Linked DNA regions of Homo sapiens: all the other regions are linked to region 2. The links are contacts of gene promoters, found by promoter capture Hi-C in blood cells and fetal thymus (Javierre and others, 2016). All regions are on one chromosome and are shown on one strand. Each heading gives the region's core, a stretch centred on a gene start or on the middle of the fragment in contact. The rest is flanking DNA. Distances are from core to core; before and after follow the strand shown.

Region 1 (3,893 bases), core at 1,144-3,643, 2.4 Mb before region 2:
TATCTGGTTGTTTTTTAGCATCTTTGTTTATCTCTGGTTGTTTTGTAGCACCTTTATTTGTTTTTTAATTAAAAAAATTTGATAATCCTCTGTAGTACTAAGCTTTGTTTTCTTTCTCTTTATTGTTTGCATAACTGCTATGGTTATCATGTGGCTTACGTAAAACATCTTATAGTTATAGTCAACTGTTTTTAGCTGATAACATCTGTTACGTGCAAAAACTCTAGACTTTTCTCCTCTACATACTGTTTTTTTTTTCTTTCTTTCTTTTTTTTTTTAAGAGACAAGGTCTTGCTACATTGTCTAGACTGACCTTGAACTTCTAGGCTCAAGTGATCCTCCCACCACAGCCTCCTGAGTAGCTGAGTTTACAGGCATATGCCATGCCCAGCTACACAATTTGTGTTTTTGATGTCACAATTTACACCTTTTTATATTGTATATTATTTAACAACTTATTGTAGCTTTTGTTATTTTTTTGACCATTTTGACATTTGACCTTTATACTAGAGATATGTATGCTTTACATATCACCAGTACAGTACTGGAGTATTCTAGGTTTATCTATATATTTATCTCTACTAGTGAGTTTTATATTTTCATTTGTATTCATAATAATTATTATCATCATTTTGTTTATACTAGAACTCCATGGCTGTGCATGGTGGCTCATACCTATAATCTCAACACTTTGGGAGGCCAAGACAGGAGGATCACTGGAGTCCAGGAGTTTGAGACCAGCCTAAGCAAGATGGCAAGACTCCATCTCTATAGTAAATAAATACATAAATAAATATTAGCTGGGCACAGTGGTACATGCCTATAGTTCCATCTACTTGGGAGGAATTCAAAGTGGCAGTGAATCATGATTGTGCCACTGAATTCCAGCAACAAAGCAAGACCCTGTCAAAAAAAGAAAGAAAGAAAAGAAGGAAGGAAGGATGGAAGGAAGGAAGGAAGGAAGGAAGGGAAGGAAGAAAGGAAGAAAGCAAGAAAGCCTAGCACTTTGGGAGGCCGAGGCAGGTGGATCACCTGGAGTCAGGAGTTTGAGACCAGCCTGGGCAACATGGTGAAACCCCGTCTCTACTAAAAATGCAAAAATTAGCCAGGTGTGGTGGCAGTTGCCTGTAATCCCAGCTACTCGGGAGGCTGAGGCAGGAGAATTGCTTGAACCCAGGAGGCGGAGGTTGCAGTGAGCCAAGATTGTGCCATTGCACTCCAGCCTGGGGGACAAGAGCAAGACTTCGAAGGAAAAAAAAAAGGAAAGAAAGAAACTTCCATTAGGCATTTCTTGTAGGGCAGACCTAGTAGTGATGAGTTTCTTCAGCTTTTGCTTGTTTGGGAAAAACTTTATTTCTTCTTCATTTCTTCATTCCTTTCAGCACTTTGAATATATAATCTTATTCTTTCCTGGCCTATAAGGTTTCTCCTGAGAAATCTATTGGTAGTCTAATGGAGATTCCCGTATATGTGACTTGACACTTTTCTCTTGCTGCTTTTAAAATTCTTTATTTTTCTTTAAATTTTGACAGTTTGATTATTATGTGCCTTGGTGAGGATGTCTTTGGGCTGTATTTATTGGGGGATCTTTCAGTTTTATGAATCTGCCCCTCTATATCTGTCCCAAGACTTGAAAGGTTTTTTTAGCAATAATTTCACTAAATAAGCTTTTTCGTTATCACTTCTCCTTCCTTAACTCCTATAATGTGAATATTTGTTCACTTAATGGTGTACATTTAGTTATTATAAATAATAATAACTAAAATAGTTAATCATAATAGTTAATATTTATTTAATACTTAGTCTTTTCTTTTCATTGAAACAGGGTCTCCTTCTGTCACCCAGGCTAGAGTAGAGTAGCATGATCATGGCTTACTGTTGCCTCAAGTTCCTGGGCTCAAGGGATCCTCCCACCTTAGCCTCCTGAGTAGCCAAGATTATAGGCACATGCCACCAACAGCTGGCTTTTTTTTTTTTTTTTTTTTTGAGACGGAATCTTGCTCCATCACCCAGGCTGGAGTGCAGTGGCGTGATCTTGGCTCACTGCAAGCTCTGCCTCCCAGGTTCATGCCATTCTCCTGCCTCAGCCTCCCGCGTAGCTGGGACTACAGGTGCCCGCCACCATGCCCGGTTAATTTTTTGTATTTTTCATAGAGACTGGGTTTCACTGTGTTAGCCAGGATGGTCTCCATCTCCTGACCTCATGATCTGCCTGCCTTGGCCTCCCAAAGTGCTGGGATTACAGGCATGAGCCACCGCACCCAGCCTAATTAAAAAAAATTTTTTTTGTAGACATGAGGTCTCCCTATGTTGCCCAGGTTGGTCTCGAATTCCTGGGCTCAAGCGATCCTCCCACATCAGCCTCTCAACGTGCTGGGATGACAGGCATGAACTATCACACCTGGCTAATACTTAGTATTTTCTAAGTGTGTCATGTATGAACTCATTTCTTCCTTATGACAATTCTATAAGTACAGGTTCATGATCTATTATTTACAATTCTGAAATTGAAAATGGTCTGAAAACCACACTTTTAAAAACTCACCTATAGTCCCAGCTACTCATGAGGCTGAGATGGGAGGACTGCTTGAGCCCAGGAGTTCAAGACCAGCCTTGGAAACAGCAAAATGCCATCTCAAAATATATATATTTGGCAGCAAATCCTGGCCTGAACTGGCATATGCCTATCTATAGTCTTTTACTTATTCCTCTTAGTATGGTTAGTCATACATTTTGCTGCAGCTCTATAAATATATTTGATTATAGAGTACTGCCCTACAAGCTGTTGGGATGCTGCATAATACAAGGTATATTCATTGGATTTCTTTTCAAAACCTAAATAATTCTTAACTCAGAAAACCATCTGGCAGGGGTGATGAACTGGTATAGATAACGGTGGTGAACTGGTACTATTATTATCCCCGTTTCACAGCTGAATAAATTGAGACTAGAAATTGCCACTTACTCAAGTTTCCATTGTTAACAAAAACAGTAAGCAATGTAGTTAATAATATTTTTGAGGGCTTCTCGTGGCAGTCACTTGGTTAAATGTTTTATGTGCATTAATTTAATCATCACCGCAACCCTATGAGTACTATTATTATCCTCATTTCCCAGATGAAGCTTAGAGAGGTTCTAAAATTCCCCCTGGAGACACTGCGATTCAGTGTGGTGAGAAAGGATTTAAAAACAAGCCGGTCCAATATCAATATATTTGATTATTACACTATCCTTTACAAATCTACACCACCAGTCCTTTCCTCTCTTCTAATGCCATTTAGACTATATACCCAATTATCTGATAATAAAAAGATTTAAAAAATATAACTAAGATCATTTTACTCACTTGCTTAAAACTCTATGACTTTCTACTTCATATGGAGCAAAGTCCAAATTCCTTACGATGATCCCTTTCTACTTCTCCCATCTCATTTCCCAACAGAGCAGACTTCTCTTACGCCTTTGCACTACGTATACCCTCTTCCTGGAAGGCTCCCAGATTGTCACACATTTAGCTACCTCTTGTCATTTAGGGCTCAGCTTAAGCTAATCCTGTTTTTCCCTGATTTACCCAGTAAGAGTAGGTCTTTAATCATACCATTAATTCCATCATTCTCTTTACATAGCACATAAATATATTTTCAATGTTTATCTATTTTCTTTTTCCTTTCCTTTTAATGTAAATTCAACCAGAGTAGGCACCTTGTCTGTTCTGGTTTCTTCAGAAGTTCCAGTCTCTCATATGGTAGGTGCTTAATTTTGGCTAAATGATTGCTGTACACGATCAGTAAAAAGTATCTGCTTGTTATTGAATGGTGGGAGATAAACTGATGAGGCAAGTAGGTGACTAAAGTGAAAATGTAAAGATATCTTGAACATCAACTTGATTAGAT
Region 2 (4,428 bases), core at 1,841-4,340:
AACTAAAAATGGAACTACTATATAATCCATCAATCCCACCCACTGCCAGGCATGAATCCAAAAAAAAGAAATCAGTATACCGAACAGATATCTGCACTCCCATGTTCATTCAGCACTATCCACAAGAGCCAAGATTTGGAAACAACCTAAGTGTTCATAAACAGATGAATGGATAAAGAAAATACGGGGCCAGGCGCGGTGGCTCACGCCTGTAATCCCAGCACTTTGGGAGGCCAAGGCGGGCAGATCACGAGATCAGGAGATCAAGACCATCCCAGCCAACATGGTGAAACCCCGGCTCTACTAAAAACACAAAAATCAGCCAGATGTGGTGGTGTGCGCCTGTAATCCTAGCTACTCGGGAGGCTAAGGCAGGAGAATCACTTGAACTGGGGAGTCGGGGGTTGCAGTGAGCCGGGATCGTGCCACTGCACTCCAGCCTGGCAACAGAGAGAGACTCCATCTCAAAAAAAATAATAATAATAATAATAAAAGAAAATATGGTACATGTACACAATGTAGTATTATTCAGCCACAAAAAAGAATGAGATCCTGTGTGCAACAACATGGATGAAACTAAAGGCCATTATGCTAAGTTAAACAAGCTAGGCACAGAAAGACAAATTTCACATGTTCTCACTTATTTGTGGTAGCTAAAAATTAAAACAACTGAACTCATGAAGAGAGTAGAATGATGGTTACCACTGGCTGGGAAAGGCAGTTGGAGGAGATAGGAGTAGGGATGGTTAATGGGTACAAAAATACACTTAGAAAAAGATCTAGTATTTGATAGATAGGATGACTATAGTCAACAATAATTTATTTTATGTTTTAAAATAACTAAAAAAGTATAACTGGATTGTTCGTAACACAAAGATAAATGCTTGAGGTGATGGATACCACATTTACTCTGATGTGATTATTATGCATTGTATGCCTGTATCAAAGTACCTCATGTATCCCATAAATATATACACCTACTATGTACCCACAAAATTAGAAAAAAAAAAAACTTTAGCTGGGTGCTGTGGCTCACCCTTGCAATTCCAGCACTTTTGGAGGCTGAAGCAGGAGGACTGCCTGAGCCCAGGAGGTCAAGGCTGTAGTGGGCTATTTTTGCACACTGCACTCCAGCCTGGGTGACAGAACAAGACCCTGTCTATTTAAAATAATAATAATAATTTTTAAAAAATGGACCTGAGAAGACTGAATAGTTGTCTAATAATCTGATATAGTCAAATAAGAATACCCTAAAAGTACCAGCAAAGTTGTAGAACTAGCCTGACTCAAAATAGTCATATTCCTTACAAGTTTTGAGTACTTAATAATTTTTAGATAGTTTTACAAAATAACCATGACAATTACAACTCAATTTCACCCCAAGTTTCCACATGAAAAGAAAGTCAGAAGTTTAGAAGTGTACCTTGGCAATACTGTGAAGAATGAACCAGAGACAAGCAATGTTCTTACCTTACCTAACTGCTGGTGAATGGCAAAGTGGCAGCACTGGCACACTGCCCAATATTTATGTAACGGAGTACTTTCAGTTTGTTTTCCCAAGTAGTGCATCTTCAGATCTGCCTTCCAGACAAACTAAAAGCAGAAGCTTGAATGAATACTGTATTGAAATGTTTTCTCATACTGACTGTGATAAAGCATATATGCTTTATAGCAGTCCTATAGGACTACTATCCTTACCCACTCTAGGAAGATCTGAGAACAAGAAAAGCGATTACTAGAAAGCAAAGTTATTTCCATGAAGAACACTTCAGAATAAATCAATGGAAACCAGAGCACATGATGTTTTCACAATTACCTGGTCGCTTTTCCTTTGGGTTCTCCAATGGAATGGGTTTCTTAGACACAGCATCTTTCACAGCTTGCCTTAGTTTCCTCTGTTCTTTTCGGTACTTCTTGAGAGTGCTTTGTTGTTTAAACTGCTTATTTTTTAGCTTGTTTTCAAGTTTGACTTTACTAGTTTTTATTAACTTGCGAAAGCTTGGGATCTGTTTTTTATTTCTTCTCTAGAAAATAACAGAAAGAATACTGCATACCCAGAAACTTATTTTTTAAATCAGGTTAAAGAGAACTGATTACAAATTTCATTAGACCAATTCCACAATTTCAATGTCCCACAGCCACAGACTTGCATATAAAAGCTAAAACCAAACGATGGCTTTAATCCTACAGAAGAGCGCTACAGCATCAGTTATTCAATCCCAATTCACAGCAATTCAAAGGGTTCTACGATCCCCAAACAGGTTAAGAACCACTGATCTAGTAGTGGTAAGTGGCTATTCAAGGCTAGTTTAACACACCTGTAGTTTAACACATTCAAAGCAAAATGCTGGCTGTCTTTAATAAAACTTACATTTATCTACGATTTTATTACTTACAAAGTGCTCCAACAAATCACCTCTAACAGCCTAGTTGAGTACTGACTGCTGTTATCCTCACATTACTGATGAAGCTGCCAAAAGACCCATAAACTAAGGAGGGCAAAACTGAATTCGGATCTTTGGATTCCACTTCTCTTGCTGGTGACTCATTCAGAAATCCCAAAGTTAGTCCTGAACCCCAGGACTACCTCTTATTTTCTGGGAGAACCAGGACAAATCACTTGCTTTTCTATCTCTTTACCCTTCATGGGTACCGTGACTCACATTATAAACTCGCTGAGGGTAGGACCCTGCTTCTCATTTGTGAAAAACGAGTTCGAAAGACGGTCTTGAAAAATTCCTTCAAAGTATGAAATCCCACGCATGCAAAACTCCGTGCCTGTCTCTTCGTGATACTCTGAAGTGGTGCGCGCACACAGTGGGTAACCAAGGATGAGCTCGGTGTAAGGAATGGAAAGCCCCCAGTCTAAACCACCGCCCCCTAGACACGGGTGAAAACCTGCCTAAAAGCTAACTCAGGCAGTGACTCTATCACCCGAAGGGGCCCTAGGCCGCGGCGACCGGGCTTTTGAGGACACTTACCGCCTTCATCCTTAGGCCTTAAATGAATGCCGGCCAGACAAGTTCACCAGAAGCAGGGTTACTACAGAAATCCCGGGGAATGACACACGTGCCGAAGTCCCTACACTACCAGAGCCGGAAACGGCCTTCAGTCCCTCCCAATCCTCCGCCGCCGGAAGTGAGGGCGGGACTTCCGTAGACAGGTTCGGGCTCGCGCCCTCTCGCGGTGACTGTCTCGCGGCCCTGGACCGGTTGCCCCCCGGCGTGCGCGCGCGGACTGGCACGAGGGAAGCCCCGAGGGCGTCGGTGCCAAAGGCGGGAAGCCGGGCGGGAGGGGCGCATTTTGCAAGGTTATCTGAGTATGATTCTTTGACTCTCGCCCTATTTATTTCTTTTAAAACCTTGGGGAAATCGGGCTCCTCCTCTCAGAATGAGAGGACTTGGTTTTTTCGGTCACCTCATTGCATTTTGTGCCTCTCCTCACGTTGCTTATCTCATGCTGTTATAGATACTGATTTTCGTAGTCTTTTTCCTCCATACAGTCCTGAGGGCAGAAAGAAGCTTATTTTTTGTGTGTAATGCCTGCCCCTCGACGGACATTCTGGCCGTGTTTGTAGCATGGCGAATGATTTCTCATCAGCCTTGGTCACTTAAAAGTCTGTGATTCTTAGTGTTTTATTTTGCATTTTTTTTTTGCTTTAATTTTTAACCATTAGCTGATAAAGAACTGTATCCATGGCTGGGTGCGGTGGTTCACGCTTGTAATCCCAGCACTTAGGGAGGCAGAGGCGGGTGGATCACCTGAGTTCCAGGAGTTCGAGACCAGCCTGGCCAACATGGTGAAACCCTGTCTCTACTAAAAATACAAAAATCAGCCAGACATGGTGGCGTGCGCCTGTAATCCTAGCTACTCGGGAGGCTGAGGCAGGAGAATCGCTTGAACCCAGGAGGCAGAGGTTGCAGTGAGTCGAGATCACACCACTGCACTCCAGCCTGGGTGACAGAGCAAGACTGTCTAAAAAATAAAAATAAAAATAAAAAACTGTATCTGCATTTCAGTATCTTACAACTTTGGGTAAATTCTGTCTGCTTAGTAATTTCACCAAAGTCGTTTTTTGTTTTTGTTTTTTGAGACGGAGTCTTGCTCTGGCGCCCAGGCTGGAGTGCAGTGGCGCAATCTGGGCTCATTGCAAGCTCTGCCTTCTGGGTTCACGCCATTCTCCTGCCTCAGCCTCCCGAGTAACTGGAACTACAGGCGCCCGCCACCACGCCCAGCTAATTTTTTTTGTATTTTTAGTAGAGACGGGGTTTCACCGTGTTAGCCAGGATGGTCTCGATCTCCTGACCTCGTGATTCGCCCACCTTGGCCTCCCAAAGTGCTGGGATAACAGGCATGAGCCACCGCGCCCCGCCTAAAGTCGTTCATTTTTACAGGAAGTTTTATGGATTGCAAGAATAAGAGTATCAA
Region 3 (3,907 bases), core at 700-3,199, 3.0 Mb before region 2:
GTTTCTCATCCAAACATTTTTATAGCAAATTACTAAATCTAGTTGAAAACAATAGGAAAGAGGATACTTTTCCCTCTAGTATTTGTTCTATCAACCTAGACTTAGCACAGAATATCTGAAATTGCAGCTAAAATAAAGGCTTCATTTTATAAAATAACATTTGAGTTGTTCCTGTATCCATGATCAGCATACAGACCTGCTAAAAGCAGAAAATAATGTTATGTTCCTCTCTATGGGATGAGTATTTCAGTAGTTTTAAGGAAAGAAAATCCTGAAAAAGAATTTAGAAAAATATTAATAGAAAGGAGGAGGATGCTTCAAAGTAATGCCGACATACATCATTTTCCCTCCAAGGCTATTAGCACTGAAATACTTTTTGCTGACTATATGGCACTTATTCTATACCTTTTGTTAATTAACAAGTAAATAGGTGGCAACAGCAACTATATTAAAGTAGAAAGCCTTTCTATAAATGAAAGTCAGAATTCAAAATTTAGAAGGCAACATTGTTTGCTTCAGATCTACTTGTTACAAATTGTGGGTTTGAAAACATGCAACCTTATCTCATGATGCACCATAACTAGTATTTAGTTATACTAATAACTCCAAATTATGTAAACAATAGATACCCCGAAATCATATTTGGGTTTGTTTCAGAGATATTTTTGGTTCTTATATTTGGACTTAGGTACTCTTGATCTAAAAATTCACTCAACCTCCAATAAAATAATGAAGGCACAGATAAAAAATCTGATAGAGCTGAATATCGAAATTCCTTGCTTTTAACAGGCGATACAGCGCATTCTTACTCTCTTTTCTCCTAGATCAGCAGGTGTCCCCGCCGCTCCAGTAGACTGAGAAAAAGGAAAAGGAGGGGGCGACAAGAAAGGAAAGGAAATTGTCTAGGTGTCCTGGTGGTGGAGGTGGGGGGTATTTTAATTTCATAATTAAAAGCTCTCTTCTTCGGCTTTCAAGTTTTTACTCCTATTTGTAATGATTTGATTGAGGACTGTGCAGCAGAGTTTGGGTATGTACATCTCTAACATAAACGGAAAGGAACAAGGAAGGGACGGATAGGAGACAGCAAAGGGTTGCGGGGAGAGAGCAAAACGTAGGCGCGTGGGGACGGGAAGGGAGAGGCGGATTTGGCAGTCAAAGAGGGACGAGAGGAACAGGAATGGAAAGTGTGGACTGGCCGTCCAATCCTATGGGGGAAGGGGAAAGGGGGGGCCCACCACGTCGCACTCCTCCCCACCTCCAGGCTTTTCCTGTGTAGGCTGAAGCCATCCAGGCGTGTACAAAAGAGTCGGTTGCTGAGCCAGGAAGGCTGTCTCCCCGGGCTGCGCAAGCTCCGGGCCGCCTCTCCTGGGCTCAGGAGGGCGGGCAAGGATAAGAAGGCAGAAGCCCCAAGGCGGACAGCTTTGTGGGCGCCTGGAAGAAGGCGAAAGGCCACCAGCCCAGACCCCGAGGGCGCTTGCCCGCGGGACTCGGCGCCGCAGGCCAGGGCCGTCCGTGAAGGGTAGTCTGTGCCTACGTCCTGCCCTACTGGTACCACTCGGACACTCTATCCCCGTCCGACCCTTTGCAGGGCTCGACTTGTCTCCCCGACTGCCCGTCCTTAGTCCAGGTTCTCCTGCGCGGCCCGGGTGCGGGGTCTCCTCGTCATCTCGGGCGACACTCTGCAAACAATATGGCGGTCGGGCGTCGACCGTGGCGCCTTCTCTCCGGGCCCTCGGGGTTGACGAGGGGGACTACCGCCGGCGCTCCCGACCCGCGACGCGCGAGCCCCGGGCGGGCGGGGGAGGCGAGAGCAAGAAACCTGTGGGACCTGTGGGGAGCCGCGTCCGCGGGGCTGGCGCGCGCGGGGGCGGCCTCGGGCTCGCGCGCAAAGGCGCGGGCGCGGGCGGGGGCGGAGTGGCGGCGGCAGCGGCGGCTAGAAGCGGCAGCCCAGAGCCCTCTCGCGGCCGCGGCGGCAGCAGCAGCGCCAGCCCCAGCAACACTGAGGCCGCCGCCGCCGCCTGGCGCTCCCGCCGCCCGGCCCGACATGAGTGAGGCGGTTCGGGTACCCTCGCCCGCCACTCCGCTGGTGGTGGCGGCGCCCGCGCCTGAGGAGAGGAAAGGGAAGGAGTCAGAGCGCGAGAAGCTGCCGCCCATCGTATCGGCGGGCGCCGGCGCGACCGCGGTAGGTGGTGGGCCGGGGCCGTCTGGCGCCCCGGACGGCGGGAGTTGGGAGGGACGGCGGCCGGGCGAGGGCCGTCAGGAGGCCTGCGTTTACCCTGGGCACGCCCTGGCACTCCAGGGAGACGCACTCAGGCCGCCCTTCCTTGGGCAGAAATAAAAGAGTTGTGCCTCGTGGACAGCCCCGAACACTTCGCGAGGTACACCTACCACCCTCGGGAAATGTTGGGGGTGGTCGGTTCCGCTGGATGTTTGGGTTATTTTCTGGGGCTTGGGCCCCCACTTTCTCTAAGAGAATGACCTGCATCTTGAGTCGGCATGATCTGTTGGATGAGCATAGGTGTCAGCAGGCGGGAGTGGGTTTTCCACGGAGGTGCCTGCCTGCCTGCCTGCCTTGGAGGCGCGCAGATTTTTGTCCTTTTCTTCGCTTTTCTTTCCCTTCCCCCTTCAGATTAAACAGGCTCTGCGGCGAGTTTCCACTTAATTGTGACCTTTCCGTTGCTGTCAGTGTAGTGGGAGGTAGATGCATCAGTGATGGTTTTATTTTTCATATGGTACAGACATGTGACTCAGGTGGGGGGAGGCTTTTTGAACCTTTTATTTAAACCCAAGTTATCTAAGCTTGACAGGGATGATTTCCCAGCTGTATCTTCGTAAGGGTTATTTGGAGAGCGCTGTCAGGCTTCAAACTACATATTGCCAGATGATGTCATGGGACAGCCCCCTCCCCCTCTTTCCCTATTTTTACTGGTGGTTGTGACTGGTTAATTTGAAGCACAATTTAAAAAAAAACCTCGGATTTTGCAATTTTTTATTTTGACATAATATTTAAGTACTTTTTGAAAGTTTGCTTTGATATATTTAAAGATCATGACTTGTCATGCAGCTGTGTGTGACAAAATAGTAAAAGTTTAGTGAACATTATACATTTTCTTTATTCCTACTTGCGGTTCATTTCTTAAAACCTCCCTCTTAAATGACTAAGAACTTACTAAAATAGCTCACTCTTCGTTAAGTACTGTATTGGTGTTAGGAATAATTTTCGGATTCGGTAGGTTTTTCAAAAATGTCTGAGGGCCCTGATAACTGGAAATTGTTAAAACAAGCTCTTTAAATCAATGCAGCAAATTGCGAACAGTAATGATACACGTTTAAAAGCGTAGCTACAATTGATTGGTAGATTGGAGCTGGGGTTAGGGATTACCCTAGAAAATGCTTTGAAGGAATTTGTCACCCAGCTGCTTGGAGACCTGGTTCCTGCTGCTGGTACCCTAGGTTTTCAGATTTTATATAGGAAGTCTTTAACTCACAGAATTCCAGCAGTTCATTTCTAAGTTGGTTGTTTAAAACAGTAAATGTATGTACTTATAGAAACAGTTAAATGAGTGGGTTTAGGTCCTCAAGCAAACGCTCTCCCAAAAACCTATTCATCTCATAACTGAAAAATTGCCGTTTTGGAATTTGCAAGTGTGGATACAAGTCTACAGTCTGCTTTGGGATTTCAAGTTTTTCAGATTTTAGAAAGGTAATTCGGTACATATATCATATATTATTTAATACCCACAGTAAGGTCCTAGCCAGTTCTCTCTAATCAACCATCTTAATAACTGTAATGAAATTATGTGTTCATGCTAAAGGGAAAAAGTCAGTAGCGTCATGTCATTTCAGATTAGGTGCATGTTTTTGCCACCAAATGAGTTGCAAAGACACTTCAGTTTCAAGAATTTAT

What was found. Contacts are between HindIII fragments. The CHiCAGO score rates a contact against its expected background, and 5 or more counts as called.
Region 1: a fragment that was not itself captured here is called in contact with the fragment with the promoter of NOC3L in region 2 in 1 of 17 cell types (activated CD4 T cells); the score reaches 6.4 in activated CD4 T cells.
Region 3: a contact is called between the fragment with the promoter of HECTD2 here and the fragment with the promoter of NOC3L in region 2, in 1 of 17 cell types (total CD8 T cells). The highest score is 5.1, in total CD8 T cells.

What each region holds. Positions count from the first base shown.
Region 1 is chr10:91,918,403-91,922,295 of GRCh38, forward strand. No RefSeq gene overlaps it. Among named protein-coding and RNA genes, the nearest start is that of BTAF1, 3.4 kb to the right of the region's middle. The HindIII fragment of the contact is 1,456 bases long and covers 1,666-3,121 here.
Region 2 is chr10:94,359,849-94,364,276 of GRCh38, forward strand. It overlaps NOC3L (NOC3 like DNA replication regulator), which reads right to left and starts at 3,091. Exons shown (of 21, transcript NM_022451.11): 1 at 2,982-3,091; 2 at 1,817-2,024. The coding sequence starts at 2,990. RefSeq lists an enhancer at 2,765-3,024 and a silencer at 3,165-3,294. The HindIII fragment of the contact is 1,523 bases long and covers 1,997-3,519 here.
Region 3 is chr10:91,408,395-91,412,301 of GRCh38, forward strand. It overlaps HECTD2 (HECT domain E3 ubiquitin protein ligase 2), which reads left to right and starts at 1,950. Exons shown (of 21, transcript NM_182765.6): 1 at 1,950-2,182. The coding sequence starts at 2,045. The region is part of intron 3 of HECTD2-AS1 (HECTD2 antisense RNA 1); the gene reads right to left. RefSeq lists an enhancer at 1,357-1,566 and a silencer at 1,717-2,306. The HindIII fragment of the contact is 4,522 bases long and covers 1-2,797 here.